Regions from separate parts of the Homo sapiens genome. Here region 1 is linked to region 2. The links are contacts of gene promoters, found by promoter capture Hi-C in human tissues and cell types (Jung and others, 2019). All regions are on one chromosome and are shown on one strand. The core of a region is centred on a gene start or on the middle of the fragment in contact, and the rest is flanking DNA. Distances in the headings are between cores, read along the strand shown. Region 1 overlaps LIMS1 (LIM zinc finger domain containing 1). Region 2 holds the start of EDAR (ectodysplasin A receptor).

Evidence for each region. Contacts are between HindIII fragments. The study calls those that stand out against the background at their distance.
Region 1: a contact is called between a fragment that was not itself captured here and the fragment with the promoter of EDAR in region 2, in 1 of the 25 tissues and cell types used here (mesenchymal stem cells).

The regions. Positions count from the first base shown.
Region 1 is chr2:108,684,722-108,687,860 of GRCh38, reverse strand. It overlaps LIMS1 (LIM zinc finger domain containing 1), which reads right to left. Exons shown (of 10, transcript NM_001193483.3): 10 at 615-3,139. Among named protein-coding and RNA genes, the nearest start is that of LIMS1-AS1, 7.7 kb to the right of the region's middle. The HindIII fragment of the contact is 4,750 bases long and covers 1-3,139 here.
Region 2 is chr2:108,987,759-108,990,850 of GRCh38, reverse strand. EDAR (ectodysplasin A receptor) reads left to right here and starts at 1,631. Exons shown (of 12, transcript NM_022336.4): 1 at 1,631-1,891. It also overlaps a transcript of RANBP2 not described here. RefSeq lists an enhancer at 2,657-3,092. The HindIII fragment of the contact is 2,359 bases long and covers 1-2,299 here.

The sequences.
Region 1 (3,139 bases), core at 580-3,079, 300 kb after region 2:
CTCCTCCACCCCACTATATTAGCCCAAGCCTAGAGTATCAGATCTGGATATTTGGGTAAAGATGCAGACAAATTTTGAGTTGAAAAAGAAAGAACTTAATTGCACCATTGCACTCCAGCTGAGGGCAGGGCACAGTGGCTCATTGCCTGTAATCCCAGCACACCATTGCACTGCAACCTCTGCCCCCTGGATTCAAGTGATTCTACTGCCTCAGCCTCCCAAGTAGCTGGGACTACAGGTGCACACCACCACGCCCTATTAATTTTTGTATTTTTAATAGAGATGAGGTTTCACTGTGTTGGCCAGGCTGGTCTCAAACTCCTGACCTCAAGTGATCCACTGGCCTCGGCCTCCCAAAGTGCTGGGATTACAGGTGTGAGCCACTGTGCCTGGACTGTATCTCCTTCTTAATAATAATAATAATTAAAAAACCCAGCATTTACATTGAGTAGAGGGAAGACTACACCATTGTTCTAGATGGTTCAAAATTTGGCTTATCTATAGTAACCAGGTCATTTTATTCATTTACTTGTTTCTATTATATATTCATGAATACTTCAATTTTCATATGTATTTCACATATATACCATTCAAAATAAACAATATACAACAGGTTATTGTTAACAATTATAAACATTTATTAAGCACCAAGAATATACTGTGGTGGTTGCTATATGAAAACATAATTACCAATATAGTATCCCTGCCATTGAGCTTACAATCTAAAACGAAATACAAGGCTATGAGCCTATCTAAAAACTTCCTTAACTTAGAAATGGCTACTTTGGCAAATGAGTGAGGCAAAATGACCTATTATTCAGGTGCAGTGCTAATAAGGCTTTGAATATCATCCAAAGAATGTTTTACTTGTACCCATTGTTCCTGATTATGTTACACTTGCTAAGAAAAACAGTACTTAGAATTTTGGCATGAACAATGAATTATTTCAAATTGTCTTGTAGGACTTTAAACAAAGAGATGCTTACTGGCCTAAGTTTTCCAGCAGCCAGGGAAAGCCCTATTAAAAATATTATGAACTAGACCAAGTTTCTCTTTTAATCCACTTACACTTTTTTTTTTTTTTTGAGACGGAGTCTTGCTCTGTCGCCCAGGCTGGAGTGCAGTGGTGCAATCTCGGCTCACTGCAAGCTCCGCCTCCTGGGTTCAAGCCATTCTCCTACCTCAGCCTCCCGAGTAGCTGGGACTACAAGCGCCCGCCACCACGCCTGGCTAATGTTTTTTTTTGTATTTTTAGTAGAGACGGGGTTTCACCTTGTTAGCCAGGATAGTCTGGATCTCCTGACCTCGTGATCCGCCCCCCTCGGCCTCCCAAAGTGCTGGGATTACAGGCATGAGCCACCACGCCCGGCCCACTTACACTTTTTAAACTTCTTCCTCTTCTCCTATACCTAAGGGCTCCAATGATACTACTTATCAGGGAAGAAAGTACTGTATCTAGATAAACTACCCTTAAGTATTACAGGCTTAGCAAGTTGAATTTCTAGAAAATACTCATTCATAATTTATTTATTTATTTTTTTTGAGACAGAGTCTTGCTCTGTTGCCCAGGCTGGAGTGCAGTGGCGTGATCTTGGCTCACTGCAAGCTCTGCCTCCCGGGTTCCCACCATTCTCCTGCCTCAGCCTCCCGAGTAGCTGGGACTGCAGGTGCCCGCCACCACGCCCGGCTAATTTTTTTGTAGTAGAGATGGGGTTTCAGTGGTAGCCAGGATGGTCTTGATCTCCTGACCTCGTGATCCACCTGCCTCGACCTCCCAAAGTGCTGGGATTACAGGTGTGAGGCACCGTGCCTGTCCACTAATTCATATTTTAAAAGAGGACTGAGCAAAGACAGCAATGGAACCTCTGGCTGCAGGAGATGCCTGGGTATGCCTGATATGTAAACAAACACAAGCAGTCGAGTTCAGGCCATGCATCTTCAAAGTGACGAAGAATATATGTAAATGCTTGTTTTTCTCCTCCATATTTCTCGTGTAGAGGTATATGAGAATTTAGCATCAAGACGCTATACTGCAAACCCTGTTCTGTGTTGCCTATATTCATAGCATAATATTTAATAAATACTCCCAAGGTTGTCATTGCTGGTCACATATTAGCTGACAAAGGCACACTGAAGGGACTTTGATTCTTACTGTAAAATGCAAAGATTGTTTTAAACTACTCAACATATACAATCTTAAACTATGTGATGATTATTCTCGATCATTTATGATAATTTCAATTCTAAAAGATTACTAAAAAAAATTGGTTGTAGGGTATCTGAAAACAAAAATAGAATGTACTCCATAAAGTACATGCACAGAATTTTTAAAAATGCAGGCATACAAATATTTAATGGCAGAGTGGTAATAACCTGAGACTTTTTAAAAATGGCAAAACAATATTTCAGCAATTTTTGGAAAAAAAACCCAAATATTTTCCCTAAGAAGTCTCTCTTGGCAACTTTCTTTTTAAGCAACAAAGCAGCAGCAACATTTTTAAATGTTCATAAAGCTCGCTTTCCATTAACAAGTTTATTAAGGAAGAGTGGTCCTGAAACTTCAGGATAAAACTTTTGATAAAAATAGAATCACTAATTTTGACCTAAAACAGACACTAAAACACCCCTCCTTCCAATTTAAGAGTGTCATTTATACCTCCTACTTACAGTAAATAAATCAAATTAATTATAAGATTTCAAATGGAAAATCTGAAACACATATCAACATCATTTTCTTCTAATAAGATAACAGAAATTAACTTCAATGGATTTCCCCAAAAAGAGAATAGTTTCTAAAAACTTAATTACAGCTGTGGTAAATGAATCTGGGTTTACCAATCTCAGATCTCAATGCACTTAGTTTTAGTTGGTATTCTGTGAGATGGCTAGAATTCCTGATTTAAGTATGTAGTATGTATGTTTTTAAGGCAAGGCAAGTTTGAGTATGTATAAAGCATAGATATTAGCATGGTTATAAAGGCAATATGACCGACATACACATTCAGTTTTCTGAAGCAATATATTCCAAGCTACATACAATTTAATTTCATGTCCTATTCTAAGACTACATGCTTAACATTAAGCTTAGAAACATAATTGCTGTAATACATTAAAAATACTTCATTTTCCAATATTGTAA
Region 2 (3,092 bases), core at 382-2,881:
ACTTTAATTTATCACAGACCCTCAGTCTGAACTCGGCATGAGCAGGGTAGACAACCAAACCTGAAAATTCAAGTTAAAATTCTTGTTTGGGAGCTTATATTATCTAGATTAATCATCCACAAGGATCAAGTCAGCTAAGTAACTCTGGTTCAGCTTAATCTCTGTGGAGGCAGAATTAGTCCTTTACAGTCTAGGTCCTTGCCCCAGCCCCATACATTTCTGTCTGCTTTTTTCTTTTCTTTTCTTTTCTGTTTTGAGACAGATTCTCGCTCTGTTGCCCAGGCTGGAGTGCAGTGGCACAATCTCGGCTCACTGCAACTTCCATCTCCTGGGTTCGAACAATTCTCCTGCTTTAGCCTCCACACATGCCACCACCGGCTAATTTTTGTATATTTTTTTTTTTTTTTTTTTTTGAGACGGAGTCTCGCTCTGTCACCCAGGCCGGACTGCGGACTGCAGTGGCGCAATCTCGGCTCACTGCAAGCTCCGCTTCCCGGGTTCACGCCATTCTCCTGCCTCAGCCTCCCGAGTAGCTGGGACTACAGGCGCCCGCCACCACGCCCGGCTAATTTTTTGTATTTTTAGTAGAGACGGGGTTTCACCTTGTTAGCCAGGATGGTCTCGATCTCCTGACCTCATGATCCACCCGCCTCGGCCTCCCAAAGTGCTGGGATTACAGGCGTGAGCCACCGCGCCCGGCCTAATTTTTGTATTTTTAGTAGGGACGGAGTTTCACCATGTTGGCCAGGCTGATCCCAAACTCCTGACCTCAAGTGATCTGCCCGCCTCAGCCTCCAAAGTGCTGGGGTTACAGGTGTGAGCCACGGAGCCCAGACTGTTTCTTTCTTAAGCTCTTACTTTCTCATGTGTGAGTTACCTTGTAGGTTTCCAAGGCAGAGGGGACAAGATGGAAAAGGAGAACACAGAAATCTAGCCTGGAGGAGCTGCTCTGTTCCTGTATTTATCTGTGTAGGTGTGAATGAGGGAGAAAATGACAAGAGAATGACATTATTTTAAGGCTGTTTTCCCCCCCCCAATCATTTACTTTTTGAGAAATAATTGCCCAATACTGAAAGGTATGTCCTTTCAAAATGTTGATGTTTCAAATGGCTTCCTAATTACCTAGTTATACGGGGGGTGTGTATGGTTATCTGAAGTTACATGGGTATACACTGGTGGTGTGAGGTGTCCAGAGAGAGGAAAGGAAGAGCAGTCCTGGTGGCTCAAACCCTGAGGGATGTGCGGGGGATGGGTGAGAATGTGAACAGACATGTTGGAAGCTGAATCCGTGCAGTGGCACCCATGCCTGTAGCCATCTCAGTGGGGGGTCCTTCTACGAACAAGCTTTGATTAATGATATTTTAATGCTAGTTTAGCTTTTTAGCACTCCCACGCCTAAAGGCTCTGATAGAAGCAAGGCCCCCACCCCTGCAAAAAAAAAAATCCATGATTTTTACGCATTCCAACAGATCTCTTAAGGGGCAGACGGCCGGAGAGCCAGGTGTGCCAGGGACCTATGGCAGCAGGGCTGAACGTGCCCGCTCCAGCCTCTCCAGTGCTGGGAGAGACCTCTAGATGGTGCAGGTGAGTTTGCAATGAGGGAAAGCCCCTCGGCAAGGACTGAGTTTCCAAACTTGCAGACAGGGCAGGGAGCGGTCAAGGAAGAGTTCCCGGGAAGCCCTTTAAACGGAAAGGAAGCGGGGCTAGTGTCAGAGAGGTGTGCCAGGTCCCAGGCAGCCCTGCTGGCCCCTAAGGACATAGAGTACCTGCTTCTGAGAGGGCTGCCACGGTGGCCACCTGTGAAGCCTGTCACCCAGAACTGGATGGTACCTGACTTTCTTCATAGACCCATCTTCTGCTGGGACTGAAGCTGACCTCCAACAGAAGCCAGGTAAGCCCTGGTCCTTTCCTCTGGTTTTCTAAACTCTTCAGCTGTGGCCGAGACGGAGGTGTCATGGGCTGGGAGAGAGGCTGGGTGCATTTTTGAAATGCATGTCATTTTTGGGTTGCGTTTGAACAAGCTTTACCGATTGCAGTATGTCTGCGCTACCAGTTCTAAGACCTGAGATTGTTCCTTTGTTTTAGAAAAACATCAGAAACCCTGTTTTGCTGTTGGTTGCACATTTGGTTAGGGAGACAAATTCTGTGTGTGCTTCACAGGCTTTAAGATTTGGGCTACTGAAGCAACGGGTTCCTCCAGGGAGCGTGAAAAGTATGTTTCTCAGGTTTGCCCCTGTGCCCGGCTCACTGGGGAAGGCAGGCGCGGCAGGGACTCTAGCTGGGCTCTGTACCTGCCTCCAACTCTGCGTACCCGCTGTGACCTAAGAGACCTTCCAAGTGGGGTTTCCAGTCGTGTCTGAGACCCCCCATATCCTGGCCTCTGTGTTGGTGGCGGGGGAGCGGGGAGAGGGAGAGAAGGAGGGGAGTGGGTACCTATTTGTGATGATTGAGGTTTTCATTTCCAGCCAAGAGGTTCCTCTCAACACTCTGACAGACCGTGGGGTGGGTTGGGCTCCTAGACAGGAGTCGGCTCTGATTCAGTCGGCTCTGATTCCCAGCCTCCTGCAGCAGCCAAGCTTTGAGATGTCAGCTCAGGGAGAAGCGGGTGGCTGGGCAGGGAGGTCAGCAGGCGAGGTTCCCACTGGGTTTCCCTGCCCATGTTGTGCTGGGTCAGCAACAAGAGGGACAGTTAAAATCAACAAGCAGGGCAGATGCCGGTCAGTGGGCAATCCCACACAGCCAGGGGTACACGCATGTGAGGAGACGTACGGAGAGACAGGAGCACCACCGTCCTCTTCCCCAGTCCCCAGGCCACTGCTCTGTGGCTCTCAAGTGGCATTTTTGAGACACTTTCTAAGCAAGAGTGAAAGTGTAACAAAGAAGTGAAGAGCCATAATAGACTGAAGGAAAAAAGGGATCCAGGCATCTAAAATAGAGAATGTTTCTTGCCTGGCTTAATACTCTGAGATTTGTAAGTCATAGCCACTTAAAACCTTTAAAGATACATTTTGACAGAGGCCACCAAAAAGAGAGTGACTCTGGTCAAGGCTTGGAAATAAGCGTTCGTTCCGATGACAGTCCACGTGTACCCT